Regions from separate parts of the Homo sapiens genome. Here all the other regions are linked to region 1. Evidence: promoter capture Hi-C in 16 types of primary human blood cells and fetal thymus (Javierre and others, 2016). All regions are on one chromosome and are shown on one strand. The core of a region is centred on a gene start or on the middle of the fragment in contact, and the rest is flanking DNA. Distances in the headings are between cores, read along the strand shown.

Region 1 (3,945 bases), core at 427-2,926:
GCCCCAGTCTTGCGGCAGGGCCCGGGTTTCCATCCAATCCACCCGGCCCGCCACTGTCCTGGCCAGTCTCCAAGGCTTCACCCAAAAAAAGGAAGCAATGAGGTGTCCCCCAGCGCGCCTTTTCACGTAGCACAGAAGGTGCTCAGTGGGTGAATCCTCTGAAAGTGCCAGCGTGTATGGTCAAACGGCAGCAACCTCTAGCCTATTAAACTCTCCCAAGATCTCTTCCAGACTTATTCCATTGCCGGAAAAAAGGCTTTTTACATATGCGCATTTAAGTAATTAAGATATTTCAACATGGTATAAGACGTAGGGGCTCTTACTCCATCAGTACTGGATGGGAATTTCCTTTTGCCCTCTACTCCCCAGGGTAACTGCAGTCCCACCTGAATGCGTTTTGCAGCCCTTACTCGGGTTCTATTTATGCGCAGCTTGGACAGGGCTCACTGGGCCCGGCCGGGCAGCTCCGTGGCCGTCCCTCTCCACCGCCCTTCCCCCGCGCCAGGCCAATGCAAGGGTGTGTGTGTTGGGGGGAGGGGAGGACAAAAGGGGTTCAGGATCTTTTTAACCTGCCTGCAGATGGCGCCCCGGGAAAGATTCCGAGCTGCATTACCTAAGCTCCAGGGGCTGCAGCCGCGGGGTCCCGGCCACAGGGCGTCCAGCCGCGAAGACTGCACAGCAGCTCTCCGTCCTTCCCAACTCGCGCGGCTGTTCGGCACCCGTGCGAGGAACGGATGGAAGGGAATTACTTGTAGCAGGGCCAGTACTGGGGGCGTGCACTCAGGGACCACGGAGTGGCACTCAGCCTCGACCCCACGCGCCAGGCAGCCCGGCGACCCCCACGCGCGGCGGGGTCCTGCCCACCCCACCCGGCGGCAGGTGGACAGTGTTGCTATGAAGAGAAAGCCTCGATTGTCCCTACAGCAAACCGCCACACGCCAGACCTCTGCTATTGTGCGCCCTCCATAGAAATGCAAACGAGCGGCGTGCGCCGGCCGCAATCTGCTCGTCCCCGCCCGCCCCCGTCTCCCGCGCCCCGCCGCGCTCGGCCAAGGGCGGGGAGGTGGGGTGGGATCTTCCAGAGACGGCTCAATGTACACATTGAGTATGCCTGGCAGGCATCACCAGCGCGCTCGGGACGCTAGTGGTCAGCTGCAGGGGGCTGTGCCCACTGCCTTTTGCAAGCCTCTAACTGGCGCTACCTGTTTTTACCTTAATTTCTGGCTCCAATGCAACAGTCTCATAGACTTCAAATTAAAGAAAAGAAACAAATAGAAAGGTAGCAATACAAAATGCAAAAAAAAATCCCTTTGCTTCTATAAAGGTGCTTTTCGCAAATTGCAGCATCATATAAGCAAACAAGGTTTTTGTGGGTTGGGTTTTTTCTTTTTTTTTTTTTTTTACTTTTTCCTTTTAAGGACTTCAAAAAAAAAAAAAAGCCAGGCGAGATGAAATCTGCAGGCTCCAGTCTGCCTGGTAACACCCCAACAAAAGCGGCAGATTTGAGGCATTGTCATCCCCCGCACCCCTCCCCACGTGGCCTTCTGGCACGAGCCGCTGGCTCGCCGCCTCATTTACATCAGAAAGCGGGTGCCGGCCAATAGGCGCGCAGCCTCGCGCCAGCTGGCGGCGCCGCACCCACCAGCCTATATAAGGGCGCGCAGCGTAGTAGGGGCGCACTCGCTGGTGGTGGGCGCGCCGTGCTGAGCTCTGGCTGTCAGTGTGTTCGCCCGCGTCCCCTCCGCGCTCTCCGCTTGTGGATAACTAGCTGCTGGTTGATCGCACTATGACTCTGGAAGAAGTCCGCGGCCAGGACACAGTTCCGGAAAGCACAGCCAGGTGGGTTTCAGGGCGCTGAGAAAGCCGCTGGTCGGTCGGCGACCGTCAGGGTTTTCCAGGGTGGGAATCCGCGGGGTAGGAGGGGAGCGCGGGGGTCCGGGCGCCAGATCCCGGTTGGAGAGCCGGGGTGCAGGCGCTGAGCCGGGATTGGAGTGTGGTTGGAGTTGGGGAGCCAAGGGTGTGTGCCGGTGGCCGGGGCTGGGGTCTCCGCCGCGCCCTCCGGCCGGCTCCCGCTCACTGCGCTGGCTCCTCCGCAGGATGCAGGGTGCCGGGAAAGCGCTGCATGAGTTGCTGCTGTCGGCGCAGCGTCAGGGCTGCCTCACTGCCGGCGTCTACGAGTCAGCCAAAGTCTTGAACGTGTAAGTGTAGACGCGGCCCAGGCTGGGAGACAGGGGCGGGGGTGAATGGCGAGGAGACTGGCGGATGGGAGGGGTGGCGGCGGGAGAACTCGGCTAGCCGGTTCTGACCTAGGTCCCCGCCTTGCCCTCGCAGGGACCCCGACAATGTGACCTTCTGTGTGCTGGCTGCGGGTGAGGAGGACGAGGGCGACATCGCGCTGCAGATCCATTTTACGCTGATCCAGGCTTTCTGCTGCGAGAACGACATCGACATAGTGCGCGTGGGCGATGTGCAGCGGCTGGCGGCTATCGTGGGCGCCGGCGAGGAGGCGGGTGCGCCGGGCGACCTGCACTGCATCCTCATTTCGGTGAGTACAGTCCCGTCCTGTCCCCGCCCCAGTGTCGTTCCCGCCTCGGCCCGCGGCCAGCCAGGCTGACCCTGCTCTCTCTCCGCAGAACCCCAACGAGGACGCCTGGAAGGATCCCGCCTTGGAGAAGCTCAGCCTGTTTTGCGAGGAGAGCCGCAGCGTTAACGACTGGGTGCCCAGCATCACCCTCCCCGAGTGACAGCCCGGCGGGGACCTTGGTCTGATCGACGTGGTGACGCCCCGGGGCGCCTAGAGCGCGGCTGGCTCTGTGGAGGGGCCCTCCGAGGGTGCCCGAGTGCGGCGTGGAGACTGGCAGGCGGGGGGGGCGCCTGGAGAGCGAGGAGGCGCGGCCTCCCGAGGAGGGGCCCGGTGGCGGCAGGGCCAGGCTGGTCCGAGCTGAGGACTCTGCAAGTGTCTGGAGCGGCTGCTCGCCCAGGAAGGCCTAGGCTAGGACGTTGGCCTCAGGGCCAGGAAGGACAGACTGGCCGGGCAGGCGTGACTCAGCAGCCTGCGCTCGGCAGGAAGGAGCGGCGCCCTGGACTTGGTACAGTTGCAGGAGCGTGAAGGACTTAGCCGACTGCGCTGCTTTTTCAAAACGGATCCGGGCAATGCTTCGTTTTCTAAAGGATGCTGCTGTTGAAGCTTTGAATTTTACAATAAACTTTTTGAAACAAACTTATGCTCTTTATTGAGGGTAGGGGATCTTTGTGTCGGGGGAGGTGGCGTGCAGGGTTTCAGAGGATTGCTGGAACTCCGTGGAACTGATGGCACCTGTTCCGTCTTCCTGTCGGGCAAGAATGACAGGCTCCTCCCCTCTGGCAGAGGGAGGGCATGCTGCCCAGTGCTAGGGTAGAACTTGAGCCTGGCTCCTACTTTTCTCCTTTTAGGAAGATTTTAAACTTGCAAAACAGGAGCATACTTGAGATAAGACAGTGCAGCAGCTGAAGTCTTGCCTTCCAAGGCGATAACAGTGACCTGTGCCTCCCCTCCCCCTCCTCGGCCCTCCTCCCCCTCCCTCCTACAGCTGCTTATCTGAACAGCTTGCAGGAGGCCTCAGGCTTTCCTGCACAATGAGCATTGCCTTCTGCAGGCCCTGCCCTTTGTGGTCCCTGAGGATGGTGGCAGACTGCTCCTGCTCTTGGGGACTTTTTCCTCTTAAATGCTCTGACACAAAGCAATGCTACAAAGGTACTAATACCAAATATGACATTGATGACTGCATTTAAGTATGAGTCATTACTTTGTCATGGCTGTGATAGAACTTGGAAGATCTGAGAAAAAATTGGAAGGCAGCATCTATATAAATAGGCATGAGCAATTCTGAGGGGGCCTGGCATCTGCTATCTACTATTTTCAGTGTTCTCTGCCCACATCAGAGTTACGAGGATTGCTGCTATTCA
Region 2 (3,945 bases), core at 632-3,131, 500 kb after region 1:
TTTGATCAAATATTTATCTATTAATGTAGAAATTCTCCTTGGAACCCTGGTTGGTGCTATTGCTTTTAACAGTAATGAAAAGAAAGAAGCAAACCTATCAGAGACTCTCCAAATTCCAAGCAACGGTGATCCCAGAAGCCTTGTTCTCTTCCCAGCTTGCTTTTATTCCGTTAAGTGCCTTTGTGGCCAAGTCACAGTCCTGGCAGCTAATGGCATGACTCATGCAGTGAACACACCTGCTCAGGCTGGATTCGAATCAGGAAATATTGGACACTGTCCTTGGAACTATATTTATAGCAAATGGAAGCTGTCAAAACAAAACTGTTTATTAGCAACATAGCATGGGTCTCCTAGAAAACAAATTTAAAAGTAGTGCTCCTCAGGCCTCTGTTTCTCTTGAAGTAAGAATAACTTCATTCTCAACCAACATGACAAAGATTTCCGTGATAGCACTGGCTAGTCTGATACACCATACTTATTTTTTCCAGTTAACATGTTATTTTTTTTCCAGTTAACATGAACATCTCTATACTCAGCCAAGGAGCTGTAATAACAGAGTTCCATTTGACAACAGAGCTGTCAGTGTGAATACCTTTTGCTTTCTTCTTTTCTCATTTCAGACTCTGGGACTTTGTACACAGCCAGGATTTCAGTTACCATGGGATATTTCCAAATTTAATCTCCAGCCAAAGTGTGGATATTTATGCATATTTCATAATTCAGATAGCTTACTAGACATAACCATTTGGTTTTAACACAGATACCTACGTCCAAAACTTAATTTTTTTTTTATTTCTTTAAACTTGCTTCTTTCTCCATAGTCTCTAGTTTGGTTAGAAACAGCACTACCTAATTAAGCAAGACTTTTAGTAATCATCCTTTCTTCCTCTTCCTCCTTGTCGTTCTCATTTCCACGTGCCCACTAGTTGCACTCTTCCATGCAGACACCTCCTAAACCCTTTGGCATTGGTTTCCCTGCCTCTCTTTCCTAGGCCTGCCATTCCACTAGAGGCTACGCTCTCTCTCACTGGACAATTACAACAACCTACTGCAGTGACTCAGCCCTTGGAACATGGACTCTGGGTTGGTTGGTTTGTGTATAAAAAACCCACTCCCAGGAGAGTCTTTGCTTGTCCTTCTTCCAACTGATCTTCTACTCAGGAAAACTGTTATGTGTATATGACTACTTTGCTGATTTTTATTGTTGTTATTGATGATGACCCGTTTTTGCTCAGGCAGGAAGTCCATCTAGGGAAGCCACTGTCTTTGTGAAAACTTCACACTGCAGCATATGGGACCAGGATCCTGGACACAGCAAATGTCAGCCCCAACCCCCATGTCCCCCAGATCTGTATTTCCAGCATAAACACAGGCTGGTTGGAGGAAACAGGCTGCATTTAGACACATCAAAGGAACTTGAATGCCAGAAAGAAAATAGAGTCCTATGGCTATTAGAGAGGGAAGACATCCAAGAAAATTGTCATCAGAGACTGTATCCAGTTGAGCAAACTCGTCTTTCAACTTAGTAAGGGTAATTACTATGCAAGTGTGTGTACTTACCAAGAATAAAATCTCCAGGGACACAGAGGAGACATTCCGGGTCTTTTGCCCTGGCCCCCTATGGCTGTTTGCACTGTGTCTTCTGTGTTAAAATGTACCTGAAATTTGTCTTCAGCAGGTGTGGTAGGGCAAACAACACAGAAATGACTGATATGGAGGAAGAAGTTTTTGCTCATAGTTCCCTAGAAACAGGAAGCACTCTATGCTGGGCCACATGGGGAGGCACAAGGCTTGGCCAGGAGGCAGAGAGGATAGAGGGAAAAACATGGGAAAGTGCTTTTATTGTGGTTTTCAAAGGAAGAAATGGGCAAGGCAGAGTAAGCAGCCTAGAATTTTCTAGTTTAATTCCCATGAACTCTGAGCATAAGGGATGTCTCTAGTTGTCTGCTGCTGGCCCTGGGATGACTAGGGCAGAGGAACATTGCCTCCTGTAGTATAACAGTCAGACAGAGGAGGTGGTATGGAACATGGGCTCTGGGTTCATTGGTTTGTGTATAAAAAGCCCATTCCCAGGAGAGTCTGCTGTCTGTGAGAACTGGCTGGCCCTGGGAGCAGCAGTCTCTCCCCAGTCATGAGCCCCTATCTTAGTCCATTTTGTGTTGCTATAACAGAATACCACACACAGGGGAATTTATAAAGAATAGAATTTCACTTAGCTAATAATTCTGGTGGCTGGGAAGTCCAAGATCGGGCAGCTGCATCTGCTGAGGGCCTTCTTGCTGCATTATCCCATGGTATCCCATGGTGGAAGGGTGGATGGGCAACTGAGCACTTGCAAAAGAGAACCAGGCCAGACTCACTTGATAACAACCACTCTTGACTAACCACTCCAAAGATTAACCATTCATGAGGGCAGAGCCCTCATGACCCAATCACCTCTGATTAGGCCCCATCTCCCAACACTGTTGCATTGTGAATTAAATTTCCAACACATGAGCTTTTGGGGAACACATTCAAACCATAGCAGTTCCCACCTGTCGAAGTATGATAAAGAAGGAAATAAACAACAGCATTTCCAGGTTTATCTTGGGCTGCTCTGACCAACCCCAGAGAATGATCTGTGAACACACTTGCTTTGTTTGCATCTCAGTGGCTCATGTTTTGTAGCAGAATCTGCTCTTGCCCTGCCGAAATTTTTCAGGCATTATTATTTAGAATGCTCCAGTGACTTCTGACTGCCAGTATCTGTGTATTTGGGCCTTTAGGAATTCTCCAAAGCCAAGTCAAAACTACACTGCCCTTCTAATGAAAGGCCAGGTATGACCATCGCCAATGGGCTGCAGTATATGACTGTATAAATACCCCAGCTCCCTCTCCTCTAGGTGTGTGCTCTTCACCATTTCCCAGTTTCCCTGTGAAATTAGGTTCCAAATGCTCACTTTGCTTGCTAACTTTATGCTGTATGTTTTCTCCAGTTGCCCTTCTTTTCTTCAACATTTTCTCATTTACCTCCCTGTGTTCCCTACAGTCCCATATAAACTACTTGCACATCCTTGTACTGGGATCTGCTTCTAGGGGAGTACAAACTCAATCATGCCCTCCTTTCCCTCTGCCTAGAATGTTGCTCCTTTCTTCTTGACCTGAAGAACTGCTAGAGAGCTTTCAAACTGTATCCAAAAGTGTGACATCTTCAGGAAGTCTTATCTGTTACTTGATGCTGGCTTTCCCACTCCTTTGTCTGTATTCTCACAGCATTTTCTGTATACCATCACTTAATATGTTGTGATTTATTAAATACATTTTTCTCCTTTCTAGGACTGGAAGTTCCATGAAGGACAGCGATTGTCTAATTCTTTTCCTTTGCACCCAAAAGAGCCTGGCACATGGTAAGTGATGTATAAATTCTGGGCAAATGACAGAATCTCTAAAATCAAATATACATTTTTTTACACTTTTCGGAGATTCACTTCTGTCTTAAAATCTGCAATAATTTGCCTCTCTCTGCACCTTACTCTGATTATTTTTATTATAAAAAGATATAAGTTTGGGCACCAAGAGACAAAAATCACCATTATATATTTTTAAATATTGTCTCTTTATTGCTCGCAAACATTGCCAGATGATATGCAAATATTGCCTGATTTTTGGTTACAACCCCTGCCAAAAGGTGAGGATTTTCAATTGTCCAATGGCCCCAGGCCCTTGATCTGGCTGTCTTTACTACTTTGGGGATATGCTATGGCTTGAATGCATGTATCACTCCAAAATTCATATGTTGGAACTTAATTCCCAAGGTGACAATATTAATAGGTGGGGCCCTTGGAGGTGATAAGACCCTGAGGGCTCCACCCCTGTGGATGGGATTAGTGCCCTTATAAAACGGCTTGAGAGAGAGTATTTGTCCCTTTTCTTGATCTGTCCTTCCACCAGGGAAGGACACAGCAA
Region 3 (3,945 bases), core at 861-3,360, 480 kb after region 1:
ACTCCACTGAGTCCCATCACGGGTTCCTAAAATTATACCTGAGATACCAGGAGAAAGGCCCCAGAAGTTACCATTATTCAACCCTGCTGGCTAATAGGTGAGAAAATGACACCTAGAAAAGTTGAGGTCTTTATCCAGAGACACAGGTTGCCGTAAAGCTCAAACTAGAGCCAGGTCTCCTGTGTTCCTGTATCCTTTCCATTACAGATATGATGTCAATGACTGTCTACACTCAGTAATCTTTTGGGAGGAAGAGGAAAGATGGTATCTTGATAAATCCTAGAATCACCAATGAAACTTTAATTTTATTTATTTATTTATTTTGAGACGGAGTCTTACTCTGTTGCCTAGGCTGGAGTGCAGTGGCGAGATCTCGGCTCCCTGCAACCTCTGCCTCCTGGGTTCAAGCGATTCTCATGCCTCAGCCTCCCAAGTAGCTGGGATTACAGGTATGTGCCACCACACCCAGCTTATTTTTTGTCTTTTTTAGCAGACACGGGGTTTCACCGTGTTAGCCAGGATGATCTCGATCTCCTGACCTCGTGATCTGCCCACTTCGGCCTCCTGGAGTGTTGGGATTACAGGGGTGAGCCACCGCACCCAGCTTACCAATGAATCTTTTTCCAGGTCATCAGAGCTGTCTCTTCCCTCCCCCAACCCTGACTGCCCTCCTCTGCCCCTGTAGTCTTCTACAAGGTTATGTCTACATGAAATTCATGTAGATGAAACTGATGGTCAAACTTAAAGCAATGCTTATGTCAAGATGGCAGCAGTCCTCTCCTGCAGTTTGGTTTTTATCTTGATGAGTGAGGGCGTCTCTCTACTAGCCAGCAGGGTGCATCTGCTCCTTGCTGTGGATGGATTACTTTGCCCGAGATGTAGAGATGAAATCAGAAGGAAAAAAACGTGAAGACACCAAGACTAAACTGAAAACCCCAACAGCAGTTTCAGGAGTCCACAACCATCCCGTTTTGATCTGTAATCAGCTCAAGTTGACAGGTGCCTCCAGTTGGACCTGATTCTTTTCCAGCCAAGAAAATGTCTACAGATTGCATTTGTGCTGTTGGAACTCACTGCTGTGGAAGGGGCCGTGGTCCAGCCCTGATTCAGCTTTGTGGTGGAAAGAAACCTGTCCCTCCGCCTTCATTTTCTCTCACCCATCACCAGAGGCACAGTTGTCAGCCTTTGCCACAGAGCCACACAAAAGGGGTCAGGCCGGCCTGGTCTCACAGAGGAGCATCTGGAACCAGCCTTTGGGCTTTCTCATGCGGAAGTCTGGCCTCATGCAGGCAATTATTTTTTATTACTTGTCAAAATCTCCGTAAGGCCAGTGGTTCCTTCTCTTTTTATGTAGCTTTTTTGTTTTGAAATAATTTCAAATTTACAAAAGGGTTACAAGATAGTGCTGAGAATTTCTGGTCCTTCCCAAGCTCCCTCTAATGTCAACATCTCACAAAACCACGGTGCACTCATCATTGATACAACACAATTCACTAAACTACAGACTATTCAGATTTCACCAGCTTTTTGCTCTGGCCTTTTCCTCTTCCGGAGTCCCATCCAGAATATTACACCACATTTAGTAGTCATGTCTCTTTAGTCACTTGGAATTGGTGACAGTTCCTCAGGGTTTTTTGTGACCTTGATACTTTTGAATAATACTCATCAAGTATTTTGCAGACTTTCCCTCATACTGGGGTTGTCTGTTGTTTTCTCGTGGTGCCACAGAAGTCGTGAATCTTGAGGGAGAATTCCATAGGGGGGCTGTGTCTGTCTGCCTTTTATCATCATACATGAAGGGGTGAATGATATCAACCACCTGTGATGTTAATGTCATGTTCACCCCTTCACTTGTTTGCCTGTTCACCCGCATCACTTGGTTAAGGTGGTGTCAGCCACTGAAAAGTCACTATTCTCCACTGAAAAGTCACTATTTTTCCCTTACCATGCTTTGTTCCTTAGGGGAGGGCAACTAAGTTTCAGTTCCAGAAAAGAAGAATGCTAAAGTATTTGGGGAGATATTTTTAAACTACCACAGTAATTAGGAAATATTTGGGGGTAAATACTCTGAGATTGTGGAAATATCAAGCATTCATCAGTGGGTCTTCCCTGCTGCAATTATGGCTGTGGGATTCTCGTGGTGATTTCCATTTCTCTCAATCCTCTTGCATTTATTAATTGGAATTATTCAATAGGAAAAATGTGTTTCTTCTCTCCCATCTTACTTATGTAGTCATTTATTTATATCAACATGAACTCATGGCTATTTATTTTATTCTTTGGGTTACAATCAAATACAATAATCATTTCTTTTTCTTGCTAAAATTGTTGCAGCTATGACCATTGGTAGCTCCTTCAGGTTTGTTCCTTTTGAAATACTCCTATGACCACCTCCAACCTCCAATTGTTTTAAATCACTTGCTCACTTTCTGGCACAATAAGATGCTCCAAGCTCACCTTCTATTTTCCCTTCCCCAGCCCTAGCATCAGACATTGTCTGTGGAGTCCTGGTTCTTTTTATTGGAGAATGATTTTAGACACCAAATTCTAGGTGCTGGTGTGTGCTTATTGCTACTAGGATGTCACAGTTTCTAAGTCCTCTCAGCAGGCAGAAATAGAAAAAAAAAAAGTGTATGTATATTAACCCATGTGTAAACATACATATGTATTTATTTCTGTATATTCATTTGTAGACACATTAAAATAAACAGAATTCATATTAATATCTCCAACTGCAAACCAGAAGAATAGAGTTTATCCTAGCATTTCTTCCCCTCTTGCTTACTTGTAACTTCTTTCTCTGTGGGTAAGAATCCTGGGTCTCATGATCTATAATTTATTTACTCACCTGTTTAATTCTAGTACACAGGTAAAGTTGTTTCAGAATCGCTAATCTCTACTCCTGTGAGAAACAAATGTATTCACTAGAGTACAGTCCTATGTAATTAACTCTACATAAACCCTGTAGAGTACTGGTTTTATGTAATTAAAACCTCTTGTCTTTAGCCTTACAGTATCCAGTCAAAATTTCCCCTTTAAAAATAATAACCTCCAAATAACTGCCTCATTCTACCACCTTATCTTCCCATTCCTAATTCCCTTTAACTTGCTCAATGTTTTTCATTAAAGTTACCACCTTTTAGTGTACTGTGTAAACTTGCATAGATATTAAACTCTGTCTGTCTCCCTGACGAGGATGCAGGCAGGGGTCTTTGTGGGAGCATCATGGTCCTCAACACACATTCATTAAATCAAGTGACCATAGGTAACTGAGGGTGAATATCCATGTAAATTCAGAAGTGGACCCCCAAAGAAGACCTTAATACTTCCACAAGTAATCCAGAGATCTGGTCGGAATTCCTCTGTTTTACCTATTTGCAGCATATCAGCTTCTTCAAGGCAAGCCTCCTCAACTCCACTGCAGCCCCATGGAAACCCGCTGACCTCTCATAGCCGTGAAATCACCTGAGGCACGAGCTCCCCATCTAGGCTGTACATTGGAGCCTGGTACCTGGGATCTGTTTCCAGGAATCAAATTAATCAGGGGTAGGGACTAAACATTAGGTTTTCAAAAATTGTGGTAAAATACACATAACATAAAATTTGCCATTTTAACTATTTTTAAGTGTACAGTTCAGTGACATTAAGTGCATTCACATTGTTGTGAAACTGTCACCACAATCCGAGTCTGGAACAATTTTTATCTTGCGAAACTAAACTCTATACCCATTGGAAACTCCGTACCCATTAAATAACAAATCCTGATCCTCCTCTCCCACTAGACTCTGGCAACCTCCATTATACTTTGTCTCTATAAATTTGATTACTCTAGGTATCTCATATGAGTAAAATCATATAATATTTGTCTCTTCGTGACTGGTTTATTTCATTTAACATAATGTCCTCAAGGATCATCCATGTTGTAGGATGTGTCAGAATTTCCTT
Region 4 (3,945 bases), core at 368-2,867, 460 kb after region 1:
TGCAGTGCAATCTATGCAAAAACCTTCCTCATTTTACAGTGTCATAAAATGGACAGCGGTGATTCTGGCAGCTTTGGAGTTTATATACACTATTTTTCTGTAAAAATACAAAGTGACATGTAATATATTTACAAACCCTTAGTTGGTGAATTGAAGAAAGGAAATCTCTGGATTCTGCAGGCAAGTGTTGAATTCAGGAGAATATCTTTGTGTTCCTCCAGAACCAGAACTGAGAGCAGATTCAATGCATGTAGTTTATTTGGGTCATGATCCTGGGATTGAAATATATAAACAGAATAAGTTTAGAGCAACTCTGAGAATAGAATTGGGGTCATGGTAGGCTTTTCCACCTTTTGTTCCTACAGCCAGTATTTACTCCCAGACTAAAGGCAGAAATGCCTGCTTAGGAGAGAAGCTAGGGCTCCTAAAACAATAGAGGCCCTGAGATACGGCCCAGTTTTGTATCTGATGCTTGAGTAGGCCTGCCAATTTCCCTTATCATTATTTATACCCTTAAAGAAGTCACCAGGTGATGTATCTTACCTGTAGTCAGACCTTGCAAGAAGCCCTCAGACCCTGGAGAAGGACCAAAAAATGAGAGTAATGGTAGAAGAAAACCTTGTGAACTCTCTGAATAAATCATCCATATGATTTATTTATAAACTCATACTCCAAGAAAAAGAATCAAAGGAAAATGAAAGAAAAGAACAGGGTCTAGGAGGGAGTGAATAGAATTGATCCCAGAAGAAACAAGGATAATCGGACGGGCATGGTGGTTCATGCCTGTAATCCCGGCACTTTGGGAGGCCGAGGCAGGTGAATCACCTGAGGTCAGGAGTTCAAGACTACCTGGCCAACATGGTGAAATCCCGTTTCTACTAAAAATAAAAAATTAGCCGGGCGTGGTGGTACATGCCTGTAATCCCAGCTACTCTGGAGGCTGAGACAGGAGAATCACTTGAACCTGGGAGGCGGAAGTGGCAATGAGCCAAAATTGTGCTATTGTACTCCAGACTGGGCAACAAGAGTGAAACTTTGTCTCAAGAAAAAAAAAAAAAAAAAGAAAAGAAAAGAAAAAAAAGAAAAGAAAAGAAACAAAGACAATCCAGAGAACTAAGAGGTACTTTCAAACCTCTATTCAGAGTTAGAAGAGAAGAAATTACATTCGCAATTTAAGAACAGACTATTGTTCGGAAGGTATAAAATCAGAACATAGAATCAGTTCATGGGATTAAAAATATTGTACCTAAAGAAAACAGTTCAATAGAACTAATTTATAAAGTAAGAAATGTCTCAGTACAAAGAGATGAGAAACATGACAGAGAAAACTAGAGACAGAGAAAACTAGAGACAGAGAACAGAGATTGCTCATTCAGAAATGCTATCTTCTATTAGGAGTCTACAAAAGTAAAAGAGAGAGAAAAAAGGGGGAGTTTATTATATGTTTTAAACAATGATAGAAAAAAGGAATATATACATATTCAACTAGATCTTCATTTAGGCACATCCTAAGGCAATTTCAGAAAACTAAGAATAAAACAAAGACACTAAAACATTCTAAAAGCAACATGCATGTTACCTGCAATGGAAGAAGAAAAAGACTAGTAGAAAAGTTTCCATCAGTAACACTAGTTTTTAAAAGATGATGGAACAGTGCTTGAATGTTCTTAGGAAAATGATTTGGAACTTAAAATTTATTCCCAGTCAAACTATAGATCAAATGTAATTGAAAAAAATTTTAAAATACACTTTTAGACATTCGGGGAAGGATTAGAAAGTTTACTTTTCATCTATGTACTTTTCTGAAGGTGCAGAAAAATATTTTCTAAGATCTCTTGAAAATACACTGTTGCAAAAACAAACAAAAGGAGTGCAACCAAGGAGAATACAACGCCTCTAATAAACAGGGGTCATAACCTAAGGGCTCCTGAAAAGCAACCCCAGGAGGCTAGCTGGCACTCAGATCTGGAGAGAAGACAGCAAAAGGAGAATTTTTTTTTCTCCCGGTGGTCACAAATTAGATAATTTCCTCAATATGATAATACTTATGCAAAGATTCTGCGCCCACAAAAGAAAACAAATAAACTTAATGGATATGTACACACAGAATATGTATAAAATTGTGCCTGGAAAGTACGCTACCATCTTGATAGGTGTTACTTTGGGGAAATGGCGTAGGAGGTGAGAGAATAAGGGAAGGTTAGGAGGTTAGAAAAGATGTTTTTGCAATATTTTCATTTCTTTTACAAAAAGATACTATCAGAACGTCCAGCAACATAATCTTGGCTGTGGTATAGACTGTTTAATAGCTTTGTGGAGATATAATTGGCAAACAATAACCTGCATGTATTTAAAGTGTATACCTCAAAAAGTTCTGACATTTGTGTACACCTGTGAAACCATCACCACAATCCAAGTGAAGAACATGCCAATCTTCCCTAAAGTCTCCTTATGCTTACTCTTACTCCCTCCGGCCCAACCCTCCTCCCCACCCCAGGCAGACACTAAGATACTTTCTGTCACTATACATTAGTTTACATTTCCTAGAATTTTACATAAATGGAATTACACCAGATGCATGCTTGTTGTTCCAGTGTAATTATGAAGAGCATCCCTTTCCTGTTTGGACAATAAACTGTACTATAATCAACCTACTACCAGGCAAGTAGCTAGTTGAAGCCTGTTCTTGAGTCCTGGTTGCCTTTTTCCAAGGAGAGACCACGCTGACTCTTGCTTTTCCTGTCTTTCCACTTGATGCTTTTACTCCCTTGTAGATACTCTGGTTTCTGTCTGGTAAGAGTAGTGACTTGGGCTGGTCTAACTTGAACAAAAGGACCAGCATGGAGTGCTTTGAACATTTTGACGGATTCAACTTTCAATGTTGTGATGAGTAAACATAGTCTTGAGTATAACCCAAGTTAGAAGCTCAGAGGCACTTGTAGTTAAAGTAAGCAATTTGGAAACTTACCATCAAGAATAAAGTTGGAGGGCTGGTCATAGTATTTCGTGCTTGTAAACAGCTACTTGGGAGGTCCAGGTAGGAGAATTAACTTGAGGCCAGGAGTTCAATACAAGCCTGGGCAACTTAGTGAGAACTTGTAAGCAAACAAATAGAGAGATAAATAAATAAATTTTGAAAAGAATTTTTAAAAATTAGCCAGGTATGGTGGCTTACACCTGTAGTCCCAGCTACTTGGAAGGGTGGGGCAGAAGGATCACTTCAGCCCGGGAATTCGAGGCTGCAGTGAGCTACGATTGCACTGCTACACTCCAGCCCCGGTGACAGAGCAAGTCCCCATCTCATAATAAAAATAATAAAATGGGGAGAAAGAACATAAATAAGAAACACTGTGAACTCTATTCTACAAGCTGTCATTAGCTCACCCCCAGGAGGTTTTCTCTCCCATGTTTATCTCTGCTCTCCCTACGTCTCACAAGTCAGACAGGGTGGGATTGATAGAGTTGGCCAGACAACACCCACTGAGGAAATTTCCCTGAAAGAAATGTCAGGTTTCAGTTACCATGGATGCACACACAAAATGCCCCTACTTGATGGCATAAATGACCATTTGACTATACTTGCAGATTCTGTGATTGGGAGTTCAGACACGTGCTGCAGAGATAGCTCATCTCTGTTCCACGATGTCTAGGGCTTCAGCTGGGACAACCTGGAACTTTGTGGTTTGCTTGGCCAGCTAGAGGCTGGAACCATCTGGAAGCTTTCTCACTCGCATGTCTGGTGCCCAGAATGCAATGATTCAAAGGTTGGAATCAGCTGGGGCTCTGTGCCTGCACATGGCATCTCCATGTGACTTGAGTTTCTCACAGCCTGGAGGCTGAGCTCTGAAAAGGAGGGTTTCAAAAGGGATCGTCCAGACAGCAAGTGTCCCAAGAGAACCGGGCTGAGGTCCATGCTTTCTGACCAAGTTCCTGAGGCCAGCCCAG
Region 5 (3,945 bases), core at 879-3,378, 440 kb after region 1:
AAGAAAAGAAATAAAATGTCTATGGAAACAATATTTTGAAACTGGTTTACAAGGAGGTGACTAAGTGCTCTCTTCCTGTCCTCCTTTGCGATTGTAAACAGAAAATTAGTCATTTAAAGTCTGTTAGCTGTGCACTCCAGGAGGCGGGGGACATGAAGTGAGAGCAGGTGACTGGTGCATTTCCATTTGTGCTACAACAACTAGGAGGAAGTGACAGAAATGACAGCAAACAATGGAATGAAAAACTCATGAAAAGGTAAATTGGAGCTCCAAAGTCAGGGGAATACAATGAAAGAAAAACCGTAACTGTTCCCGGTGTGCCGGGCCAGTGGAGACAAGGGCCTCCCTCTGCCCTGTGTGCCTGGATGATGATCAATTCATCTCAGGCCAGAACAGTTGTCCTGGACGCTTCAGAGGAAGGCAACAGAGTGACTCACCACAGGCTGCAGCTTCCTAGGGGCACGCATGCATCCATTTATCAGCACTGGAACAATTTATGGATAGCTGGCAATTTGTAGAAGGGGCCACTCAATATATTTTTTTTAAAGCCTAGCTCCATTTAAAAAATAAATCAGAAGTAGAAAAGTAGATTAAGGAAGCAATAGGGTGTCTCATGGGCCGTGTATGAAATGCATACAGTATTTGGTATATAATACAGGTTTAGTGTTGGACACTTAAGATTACTGTATAGGCATTAGGAATTTCATGTCAATTTCTCATCGTCCCTTTATTTGTGATAATGGGAGTATTTCAGTGGAAATAAAGGATTCACCTAAGAAGCTTTTTAGGATGATTTAAGACCTAACACAATGATATTAGTGATGTATTGCCACATAACAAATCTTAGTGGTTTGAAACAACAAACGTTTATAGTATCTCAGTTTCCGAGTGTCAGGAATCCAGGTGTGGCTTCACTGGGTGGTTTGGGTCAGGGTCTCAGAGTAGCAGTCTGCATGTTTGTGGGTCTGCGTCCATCTTGAGATTTGAGGAACAGGTCAGATCTGCTGCCAAGCTCACTCACCTGGGTAGGAGCAGGATGCCATTCTTTGCAGATGTTGGATGGAGGGTCTCAGATCTTCATGGTCTGTCGGCTGGAGCTGTGTGTCCCTTGGCAAGGTGTGTCTGTACTGTGAGTGCAGCTCACACTGTGGCAGCTGACTTTCTGCAGTTATGAGCATAAGACAAGAGAGGATGAGCAAGCCAGAATGCAGTCTTTCTGTAACCTCATCATAGATGTGACATCCCATCACTTTTGCCATATGGTCTCTGTTAGAAGCAAGTCACTGGGTCCCACCCTCACTCAAGAAGAAGGTATCACAAAGGGTGTGAATACCAAATGTACTGGGGTCCTTCTAGACGCTTTCTACTACAATTATAAGAAGAAATGCACTAGCCCCAAATCATTGGAAACAGGGTCACAGGGAGATAGAGCAAGTTGGAAAGTGCCTTGGGACTTGGCTTCCCTCTTTTCTGACAAGAATCGTCTTCATGAATGTGACATCACCTCTTTGATAGGTGGAAGGAGGCAGGGAGCAGGGGCAGATCAAGGCTCATGTCAGCATGGTCCTACTGAGGCAGCCCTGTCCTTTCTGCAGGCAGCAGCAATCAGATGCAGGTCTTCATCTCCAACAGGAGCTGGAATCCTGGTTTCTGATGTTGGCCCAGAGCACTTCTGGAGAAATGTGTGAGGGAGACAAGTGGAGAAGGGATGTCCACAGCCCACCATACTTAGGGTGGTGTGCCCGAGTGAGGTGCCCGTGCTCTCATGTTCTGTAACCTGGTGGGCACAGCCAGGGGCAGTGGCTGCCTGCACATGATGCTTTATGAAGAAGCAGCAGCTGTGGAATGCTCCCTGTGGGCCATGCACGCTACAGGGGCTCTGCGTGCATCACTTCACTTCACCCCCACAGGAGCACGATAGAGAGGTTACTGTCCTACCTCCAGTTTTAAATCTGGGGAAACTGAGATTGTGAGATCGAGCCATCTGCTGCAGCACATGGGGCCCGTGGGTGGCCAAACCCAGATTTCCATACTGGTCTTGATGACTAATTACTTCTAAGTTATTCTTTTTCAAAGTTCTTTTAGCTATACTAGCTGTTTGGTTTTTTTTTTTTTTGCCTTTCCACACATTTTAGAATAATGTCCAAATCTACAAAAGTCTTACTGAGATTATGAAAGAAATTGTTTAAACCTATAGATCAATTTGAGAAGAATTGACATCCTCACTCTCTTATGTCTTTGAATCCATGATTAAATCTATTATTTAAATCTATGATGGTATTTCTATTTACTTTTATAGATCTTTGAGTTCTTTTATCAGCCTTCTGTGGTACAAATTCTGTTTATACTTTGTTAGATTTATACCTTAGTATTTCATTTCTTTTAGCTATTGTAAATGGTATTATATTTTAATTTCTGTGACTACATGTTCTCTTCTAGAGTACAGAAAAACAGCTGAGTTTTGTATGTTTCTCTTTTAACCTGAAATATTGCTGAGTCCACTTGTTAGTTCTAGGTGTGCTTTTTTCTTTCTTTCTTTCTTTTTTTTTTTTTTTTTTTTTTTTTTTGAGACAGAGTCTCACTCTGTTGCCCAGGCTGGAGTGCAATGACGCCATCTCAGCTCAAGCGATTCTCCTGCCTCAGCCTCCTGAGTAGCTGGGATTACAGGCGTGCACCACCATGCCTGGCTAATTTTTTGTATTTTTAGTAGAGACAGGGTTTCACCGTGTTAGCCAGGATGGTCTCAATCTGCTGACCTCGTGATCTGCCCACCTCAGCCTCCCAAAGTGCTGGGATTACAGGTGTGAGCCACCACGCCCAGACTTCTAGGTGTGCTTTTGTAGATTCTCTAGGATTTTGTGAGTAGACAATCAAGCCAACTACAAGTAGGGACAGTTTTATTTCTTTCATTGCATTCTGTTTTTTATTTACTTTTTCTTTTTTTTTTTTTTTGCCTTAATGAACTGGTTAAAACTTCTGGCACTGTATTCACTAAGAATGATGAGAACAGACATCCCTGCCAGGCTCCAAATCTTAGGGGGAAGCATTCACACCATGCAGTATAAAGTGAGCTGTGGTTTTACCAATGCTTTTTGTGAAGTTGAGGAAGTTTCTCCCTTATTACTATTATTACTATTTTCTAAAAGTTTTCTTTATTGTTTCTCCCTTATTACTATTATTACTATTTTCTAAAAGTTTTCTTTTTTGTTTCTCCCTCTCTCTTTTTTTAAATGAATCAGTGTTGCATTTTGCCAAATGCTTTTTTCTACATCAGTTGATGTCATCAGGTGATTTTTCTTCTTTAGCTTGTAAATGTGGTCAGTTACACACAGACAGTTCCTGACTTGCAATAGTATGACTTAAAATTTTTCAATGTTTTGACTCTACAATAGTACAAAACCATCTAACCATTCTGTTTTTCATTTTCAGTATGGTATTCAGTAAATTATGTGAGACATTTTATACTTTACTATAAAATAAGCTTTGTGTTTGATGATTTTTCCCAACTGTAGGCTAATGGAAATATTCTGAGCACAATTCAGGTAGGCGAGGCTAAGCTATGAGGTTTGGTAGGTTGGGCATATTAACTGCATTGTTGACTTAACGATATTTTCAACTAATGAGTGGGTTTATTGGGCCATAACTTCATGGTAAGCTGAAAAGTATCTGTAATTGATTTTTGAATATTGAACTCGCTTTGAATTTCAGGAACAAAATCCACTTGGTTGTGATGTACGATTATTTTGATGTATTGCTAAATTCTATTTGTTATTTTGTTAAAATTTTTTGCATCTATAATTATGGCAAATATTAATCTGTAGTTTTCCTTTTGGTATACTTTTGGTCTAGTTTTGTATCAGTATAATGCTGGATTCATAAAATTCATTGGGAAGTGTTTCCATTCTTTCTATTTTGGGGAAGAGACTATGTATAATCGGTGTTAAT
Region 6 (3,945 bases), core at 783-3,282, 420 kb after region 1:
CACGTGTCAGTGTTGTTCTTTTTCACTTCCACCTTTTATTCAGCCAGTATTTCTCACGTGTCAGTGTTGTGCTAGGCTTCAGAGGAACAACCAGAAAGGCATGCGTGTTCTGTCCTTCAGAGCTCTCTGTCCTCCCAGAGCTCTCTGTCCTCCCAGAGGGGTCTTGATGGTGCTGGTAAACTGTGCTAAAGCTGCATGGAAGCTGGGCTGGGAGCTGAGGGACACAGGCAGGGGCCACCTAGCTCAGGGTCTGTGTGAGTATGGGGCGGAGGCTCTCATGGGCTTCCTGAGGAGGGGCTGCCAGATCCAATTCTCAAAGGCTGACAAGGACACAGATGGGCAAACAGCATCAGGTGCTCCAAGTCTAAGGACCAGCAAGCCCAGCGACCTGGCCCAGAGCACGGCAGGTGTGAAACACGGTGGCTCTCCGTGAGGAGCTCAGGGTGCAGCGTGGTGTGGGGGAAGTGGGGCTGCAGATGCAAGCAGAAGCCGTGTCAGGAGGGACTTTGCTCTTCCACTAGGAAGTCTGGCCTTGGCTGTGAAGGCACTGGGCGTTGCAGAAGGACTGAGAGGAGAGGGCCATGCCCAGCACCGTGTTCATGCACACATTTAGAGAAACTGGGCTTTTTCAGGAAATTTGGATGGAGGCTTTTGTGGCAACCCTGACCTGATGGAAGATAAAGATGTCAATATACACATGGTCCTGATGGGAGATATTTTGGAGATAGAATTGGTGGGCCTATTTACCAAGTAGCCCAAAGGGTGGGAGGGGGACTCTGCCATTGTTTGGGATCTTTGGTGATTTCTTTTTAAGGAGCTGATGGCTCAGGCAGAATGGTTCTAAGGGCCTTGAACACAGGCCTCTCCCACACGTCTTCCTTAATAGACTCCCGACTCCAGACAGGAGTCCAACATTAATACTTCATATCTGGGTGACCAAACCCTGCTGGCTCACACCTAGGAGAGGAGCAAGTGGAGGAAGCAGAGCCTTCTGGGAGGAGTGGGAGGAAGGCTTGCAAGGGGATGAGGCTGCTGCACCCAAGAGGAACCAAGCCTGGGTGCAGTGGGGTCTTGCACCCTCCTCCCAGTGTTCCACAGGATGGGTGTCTATGCCCAGGAGAAATGCACAGGAAGGGAGACACCTAGAGACACTCCCGTGGTCCAGACACATGGTGAACCCAAGCCCAGAAGACAGTCCAGGCTGACAACAGTAAGGCAGGGGCTGAACAAAACCCATCAGGGAGCAAGCTAAGGTGGTTGGCTCCTCCTGACGAATATTCAGAAGTGCTTCCTTTGCTCTTTTGAGTAACTAAAATTCAGCCAAATTGCATAGGAGAGAAGCCTCCTCCTGCCTAGGCTCCTCCTGGGCTGTTCAGGACAGCTGCAGCCAAGTTCAGACTTAGAGCTGTGAGTAAGCAAGAGGAAGCAAGGCAGGCAGCTCTACCGCTGGCAGGTCTGAGGCATCCCAGACAGCTCCGTGCAGCAAATTCTTCTGCAGTGACTGTTTGGCATCATCTGGGTGGAAACAAAACAAAACAGGTGAACAAAGAAACAGGAGCTGTAGCTTGCCAGTTTATAGGTATTTTTAATTGCCTCTTAGCTTTCTTGGTGCAGACATAGCATCCCTTTCTTTAAGTTTTGGGGGCTCACTAACCTTACAAGATGGTGGCATGAAAGTTCCTAGCACAGAGACAGGTCCACACAGATACTAAATAAAATAACTCAGTGAAAATTGTCCAAATCAGAGAAATGATTTGAAGGCATCTTATTTGTCAGGCTCTGTATCTATATTATTTCAACATCTCAAGTTCAGCTGTAGAGACAACTATATTATTTTGATTTAGTTGACAAGGAAACAGAGGCTCTGAGCATGTAGGTAACTTGTCCCTACTGTGACAGGCTGGGGTTCAGACCCAGAGCTAACTCCAAAATTTACACTTTTAAAAGGGAAATGTGGGTGGGAAGAATAGGATCTGTGGTCTGTTGATATTTCTTCTAGTGAGAACCTACCAGTGCCTTTTCCTCAAGGTATCAGGTAGATCAACCTGGAACATTCTATTTTGCTTCCTGTAACCCTCCAATGGTGTAGGGGAGTTGAGGTGAGGAAGGGGTGGGGTGGTAAAGGTGAAAGTCAATTTCAATCTTTTAGTTATAAAAGTCCATGGGTAGATTCCAATGCCTTCCTTCACCAGCCTATTTCTGCAAATTCTCCAGTGTGTCCATCCACCCTTAACTGTGTTCATAAATCATATCTCACAAACTTCATCATCCCTTAACTTTGTTGTAGCACCTGGTCACAATTTTCTTCTTACTAAATGATATATCATGATTCAGCAACCATGCAGAGGACAACTCAATTCTATGTCAACCTTGTAGGCATAAAAATGAAGCAAACAAGCCTTCAAGAAGGCCACTTGCAGGCATGTATACTGACCTCAGGCCTCTCTTGGCCCAATGTTTGTGAACAGAAGTCAGAAGGTGGCAGTTGGGGGATACAGAATTTACTTTGTAGTTTGCAAAAGAAACAAGCAATCTTTGAGATCCAGGCCCTTCTATGTCCTGCAAATCACAACTGATGTTTCATCTGCATTTGCACAAAAGATTCTTTTGCCCCCTGGGGTGCCATATTTTCATCACATACCGCAGTGCTGAAAATGCTGCTTTGGTTTGTGTGAAAGAAGGGATGGAAGACTTTAGTGAGTTTTTAAAGTATTCCTTTTAGAATTAAATGAATACTGTGGAACAAGGACATGTTACTGAATCACACCGATCAAGTCTGTGGTCCAACCTTTGAGCCCTACAAGGGGCAGCCAGGACACCAGCCTCATATGTAACCTAGTGGGGTTGCCATAGCAGAACACCATAGACTGGGTGGCTTAAACAATAAACATTTATTTCTCACAGTCCTGAAGGCTTGAAGTCAAGATCAGGGTACCAGTATGGTCAAGGTCTTGGTAAGGGCCCTCTTTCTCATTCACAGATAGTCATCTTTTAGTCATCTCACAGTGGAGAGCAGAGGGAGAAAAGACAAGCTCTCTCAAGTCAGTTCTTGTAAAGACACTAATCTCACCATGAGGGTTTCACTCTGTGACCTATTTACCTCTCAAAGACCCCATCACCAAATGCTTTCACATTGGGGATTAGGGTTTCAATATATGGATTTTGGAGGGATACAAATATGTCCTTGTCATATAGTAATTGACACAGTGTGGTATCAGTGAAAGAATAGACAAGCATCTCAACAGAACAGTGTACAGAGCCCAATAGATTCACATAAATATAGTCAACTGAACTTTGACTAAGACAAAGGCAATACAATGGAGAAATGTCTTTTTAACAAATGGGGCTGAAACAACTGGACACCCTCATGCCAAAAAAAAAAAAAAGTTCTAGATACAGATCTTGTACTCTTCACAAAATTAACTAAAGTAGGCAATAGACTTGAGTCTAAAATGTAAAACAAAACTCCCGGAAGATAACATAGGAGAATACCTAGATGACCTTGGGTATGGTGATGACTTTTTAGATACAACAGCTAAGGCTCAGTCCATGAAAGAAATAATTGATAACTGGATTTCAGTAAAATAAAACATTTTTGTGCAGCAAAAGACAACATCAAGAGAATGAGAAGCCAAACAACTAGATTAAAAAATGAGTGAAAGACTTTAATAGAAATCTTACTAAAGAGGAGGTACAGCTGGAAAGTAAGCATGTGAAAAGATGCCCCACATCATTGTCATTAGGGAACTGCAAATTGAAACAATGAGATACCACCACACACCAAAACCCAGAACTCTGACAACACTAAATCCTGGTGAGGACATGGAGCAGCAAGAACTCTCATTCAATGCTGATGGGGATGCAAAATGTACAGTCGCTTTGGAAGGCAGTTTATCAGTTTCTTACAAAACTAAACATAAGATCTAGCAATCATGCTCCTTGGTA
Region 7 (3,945 bases), core at 606-3,105, 390 kb after region 1:
GCTGTGGGAGCCGCTCAGTGTGAACCAGGCTCAAAGAACACTGCGTAGAGAGCTGCCCACGTTTGTTTACGCACGGTTTGTTGTGTTTCCAGAATGAAAGGAACAGGACATACAGGGTGGACAAAACCGACAGGGGCAGCTATGTCATTTCAGACGAAAACAAGCCTTTTCGGAAACATTCAAATACTAGATGATTATGGCTTTCCACGGACAATGTCTCTCTACTTCTGTCTGCAAACATCCCCAGGGACTGAAAGCATCTTGAAGCCTGCCTCCCCAGATTAGGGAGTCACTGACAGGGCAGAAGTCACATTTTGAATGTGTGTTTTATCGGCACTTCACAGAGGATGAGACAAAGGCACAGATATCTGACACTGCGGCTGTGCCTCCGTACCCCCGCTGTCAGTGACCGCCTCACCCTTCAGGATGGCCCCGTAGACTCACACACTACTGCTCCATTCTGCTTTGGTCTTGATGTTTTTGTTCTGTGTTTCATTTTCAGTGTCTTTGGCTGCTCTTGGGGTCTCCTCTTTCCCTCAGGCAGGGGCCGAAGGGCAGGCAGGGGGGTGTTGGGCCCAAGGGGGCCAGCTGGTGAGGACAGCCCCGCCTGCCCTGGTGGTCTCGCCTCTCCTCAGTGGGCTCATCACATTCACAGAGGTTCTTCGTGCCTCCCTCACTTTGTTGCCACAACAAGAAAGATTTCACTCCGTCTCTATTTTAAAGAGAGCTGGAGACATCAAGTGGCTGGCTGTGGTCACCCAGCCCCAACCCTGGGTCTCATTGGTGTAGGACCCCGTGTTTATCTTCCTGTCATTTCATCTTCCCCCTACTCCCGCCAACACCTTCTATTTAATCTTTCCCCCAGCTCTTCCTCCTTCTTGCACAACTGAGGTGCCTGTGAGGGGCTGGATGTGGGAGGTGGGTGACACCTCAAACAGTAATTTCCAGAAGCATTTTAGATGCAACCTCGGAGTCTTCAAAGGAGCACTGGGCAATTTTGCTTGGAGAGGGGGTGGAGGCGGGTAAAGGATCTCTGTATTTTCATCCCCTGGAACTGGCTGGAACTGGCTGGAACTGGCTGCCTGTTGGATGTCCCTGGAGGTGTGGCATCCTTTGCATGTCAACATCAGGATTTGGCTCTTGTCTCTGCCCCGGGCCTGACTCCCTGCTGCCAATGCCTGTGGTCTGGATGCACTTGCTGCGAATTGCCCAGGTGGCAGTGGTGGAGCAGAGTCTGCTGGGAGACACAGCAGGAAACATACAGCATCATGGGGTCCCAGGTGTGACGGCTGGGCATGGTGTATTTGTGAGAAGAGGCTCCAGACCTGGGGTCTGGGCTCTGGAGATGTGGGTGGGGCACAGGTGGCAGGAAAAGGATGGGTGAGCCCAGGTCCACCTGGCCTATGGAGGTCTTAACTTCCTAGACCTATCCAAACCTCTCTGTAGTGATAAATGCCATGGAAATGTTCTGGGGACTGCCGGGGAGTGGGATGGGAGGGTGGAGGGGGCTGTCTTCCACAGCCAAGAAGGAGACATAGTAGAGACCCTTGGATTCAGGCTTAAAGAATAACTAGGGGCATTGGCCTTCTTAGAGAGGACACAGGACTTTGTCTGACTTTGCACTTGTCTGGTGTCATTGCAAGTGGCAATTCTCAATTCTCAGTTCTCCAGTTATCCGGCGCCACCTGGGTGTCCAACAAGTTCATGCCATGAACACTGGAGGTGAAGGGCTCTGTCCTATGACTCTGCCCCACAGCAGACACCAGCCACAAGGCCCAAGGGTCATCCGGCTGTGAAATCAGGGGCTCCTATGACCTTCTCCCAGGCTTAATCCCTTGCTAGAATGAGTCACAGAATGCAGGGCAGCACTCTACTTACAATTATGGTTTTGTTATGAAAGATAAACTCAGGAGTGGCCAAATGCAAGAGAAGCATAGGAGAAGGTATTGGGGAAACAAGTGTGGAGTTTCCCTGTCCTCTCAGTGCACAGCTCCCCACTTCATGTGGATGCTTCTACCACCCTGGAAGCTCCCCAAACCCCTTTGTTTGGGGATTTTGTGGAGGTTCCATGATGTAGGTGTGATTGATACATCATTAGCCATTAGTGACTGACTCAGTCTCCAGCTGCTCCCCCCCTCTCTGGGTTGGGGATGAAGTGGCATCATGGTTGGTCTTTTTGGCCACTAGCCGCCATCCTGAAACTGTCTAGAGTTCAGCCACCCACCATCTCATTAGCACACAGAAAACAGCAAACTCCCAGGGTTCCAGGAGCTGTGTGCCAGTCTGGGATGAAAAGAGATCAGGAGGTAGATGGATGAACAGGGGCATTTTCCTGATCTATCCCCAGCACCAGGCAGAGCCCCCTTGTTGTCCTCAAAAAACAGGCTGTGAAGGCAGAGGCAAGGCTCCTCGTGGGGTTCCAGGTGTGGAGGTGCTGCAGACCACCTGCAATTCCAAGGGGGCAGATGCTGCCAGGGACATAGATCGCCCAAGAAAACCTTGGGCTACTGTTGCCTGACTGAAGGACCCTGGGTGTGAGCAGGGCTCTGCTCAGAGGGCCTTGAGCCCTCTCAGGCCATCCCTGACCACATTGCAGCCTCCACTAGCCCCGCATCAGGTTCTGGCCCTGCCCAGAGCCACCTCCCTGTGGTGGGGATGAGACATCCCAACTTCTCTCAGACCTGGGAGGCCACCCAAGGTCTCAGGTTGGGAAGGCCGCCTTAAAAGATGCTTGGCTTCCAGTTCTTAATCTTAGAGGATTTGGGGGAGGAACCAACAGTGTATTGTGTGTAGTGTGGTGTGTGTGTGTTGTGTGGTGCATGCATATAAGTGTGGCATGTAAGTATATGTGTGCTTGGTATATGCATATGGATGGATGTATATTGTGTTTATGTATGGGACACCTGGTTTGTAATATTTGTCATTGTCTGTGGTATAAATCCTCCCATGACAGCCAATGGAAAGCTAATGCCATGTCACCAAAAACAGAGTTGGAAAGGGTGTGCAGAGCCACTACCTTAAGTACGATGACGTACATATATCACCAGACAGATAAACAGACACGCAGCCTAGAGAACACTGATAATAACACAATGTGGGGGTTATTATCTTGAATTTTAATATAATTTATTTTATTGCAAATCTATTCATTTTAATTTTTAATAATGGCTGTGTGTAACAACTGGTCCCGAAATTCACAGACATTTGGCAATCGACCCCATCAAGGGGGTACGGGTTGGCCTAGACCACCCTGGATTCCTTCTCCGGCTGCGTTCTGTGGCCAATGTACTGAGCCCTGCCGGCCTCCTTCCTCAAGAAGCTGGAAATCTGGTAGGAGCTGGAGATGGTTTCACTGGGGTCCCCAGGCTCACCACCCATGGGGCTGCAGAGGGAGTGGTGGAGATACACATGGAGGCCTCCTGGCTCTGGGAGTAGCTTCACACTCATACTCGGGGAATTGTTCTAATGGCTCAGGCTTGAGGCACCACATGCAGTTTTTTTTTTTAAAGTATGGTATTAATTTATACTTGTCTGTTGTTTATCCAATAAATGGCGTTCCAAATAGCAGGGCACTAGCCTGAACGGGAGAGGAGTGTGGATTCTGTTCTAAGCATGTTACAGCATCTGCTTTCATACTCATGCATATGCACACATGCATATATGTATATCCATGTCTACCTCAGGCGTGGGCACTTGCTGACTTATCAGGCATAGCCAAAGATAAAAGGCAACACTATGCTCCATGGAGGATGAATCTCACTTGGGTAATAAAATGACAAAGAAAACTAGAGAACTAATGGCCATAAGACTCAGCCCAGCTGTGCCCCAGGAGGGAGGAGAGATTTGGGAGTGGGGTTCTGTAGGGGGGTGGGAAGGCTCTAGAGTGGGTGCTGGGGGTTACAAGCATTTTTGCCTTATAGGACTTCATTAAACTTCATGTTTGCT

Evidence for each region. Contacts are between HindIII fragments. The CHiCAGO score rates a contact against its expected background, and 5 or more counts as called.
Region 2: a contact is called between a fragment that was not itself captured here and the fragment with the promoter of GADD45G in region 1, in 17 of 17 cell types (non-activated CD4 T cells, M0 macrophages, total CD8 T cells and 14 more). The highest score is 58.5, in non-activated CD4 T cells.
Region 3: a contact is called between a fragment that was not itself captured here and the fragment with the promoter of GADD45G in region 1, in 17 of 17 cell types (M0 macrophages, M1 macrophages, M2 macrophages and 14 more). The highest score is 52.6, in M0 macrophages.
Region 4: a fragment that was not itself captured here is called in contact with the fragment with the promoter of GADD45G in region 1 in 16 of 17 cell types (M0 macrophages, M1 macrophages, M2 macrophages and 13 more); the score reaches 18.7 in M0 macrophages.
Region 5: a contact is called between a fragment that was not itself captured here and the fragment with the promoter of GADD45G in region 1, in 14 of 17 cell types (M1 macrophages, M0 macrophages, M2 macrophages and 11 more). The highest score is 14.4, in M1 macrophages.
Region 6: a contact is called between a fragment that was not itself captured here and the fragment with the promoter of GADD45G in region 1, in 11 of 17 cell types (M1 macrophages, M2 macrophages, naive B cells and 8 more). The highest score is 12.0, in M1 macrophages.
Region 7: a fragment that was not itself captured here is called in contact with the fragment with the promoter of GADD45G in region 1 in 17 of 17 cell types (M2 macrophages, M0 macrophages, M1 macrophages and 14 more); the score reaches 48.5 in M2 macrophages.

Annotation. Positions count from the first base shown.
Region 1 is chr9:89,603,336-89,607,280 of GRCh38, forward strand. GADD45G (growth arrest and DNA damage inducible gamma) reads left to right here and starts at 1,677. Exons shown (of 4, transcript NM_006705.4): 1 at 1,677-1,839; 2 at 2,097-2,198; 3 at 2,332-2,545; 4 at 2,634-3,220. The coding sequence starts at 1,787. The coding sequence ends at 2,744. It overlaps LOC105376139 (a long non-coding RNA gene), which reads right to left and starts at 1,681. Exons shown (of 2, transcript XR_930105.3): 1 at 1-1,681. RefSeq lists an enhancer at 488-1,386 and a silencer at 997-1,046. The HindIII fragment of the contact is 4,421 bases long and covers 1-3,185 here.
Region 2 is chr9:90,107,013-90,110,957 of GRCh38, forward strand. No RefSeq gene overlaps it. Among named protein-coding and RNA genes, the nearest start is that of MIR4290HG, 67 kb to the left of the region's middle. The HindIII fragment of the contact is 6,474 bases long and covers 1-3,945 here.
Region 3 is chr9:90,087,506-90,091,450 of GRCh38, forward strand. No RefSeq gene overlaps it. Among named protein-coding and RNA genes, the nearest start is that of MIR4290HG, 48 kb to the left of the region's middle. The HindIII fragment of the contact is 6,772 bases long and covers 1-3,945 here.
Region 4 is chr9:90,066,497-90,070,441 of GRCh38, forward strand. No RefSeq gene overlaps it. Among named protein-coding and RNA genes, the nearest start is that of MIR4290HG, 27 kb to the left of the region's middle. The HindIII fragment of the contact is 4,200 bases long and covers 1-3,717 here.
Region 5 is chr9:90,044,685-90,048,629 of GRCh38, forward strand. No RefSeq gene overlaps it. Among named protein-coding and RNA genes, the nearest start is that of MIR4290HG, 5.2 kb to the left of the region's middle. The HindIII fragment of the contact is 2,701 bases long and covers 779-3,479 here.
Region 6 is chr9:90,024,585-90,028,529 of GRCh38, forward strand. It overlaps MIR4290HG (MIR4290 host gene), which reads right to left. Exons shown (of 4, transcript NR_038882.1): 3 at 1-1,515. Among named protein-coding and RNA genes, the nearest start is that of MIR4290, 3.0 kb to the left of the region's middle. RefSeq lists an enhancer at 303-352. The HindIII fragment of the contact is 8,601 bases long and covers 1-3,945 here.
Region 7 is chr9:89,995,179-89,999,123 of GRCh38, forward strand. No RefSeq gene overlaps it. Among named protein-coding and RNA genes, the nearest start is that of MIR4290, 26 kb to the right of the region's middle. The HindIII fragment of the contact is 5,680 bases long and covers 1-3,945 here.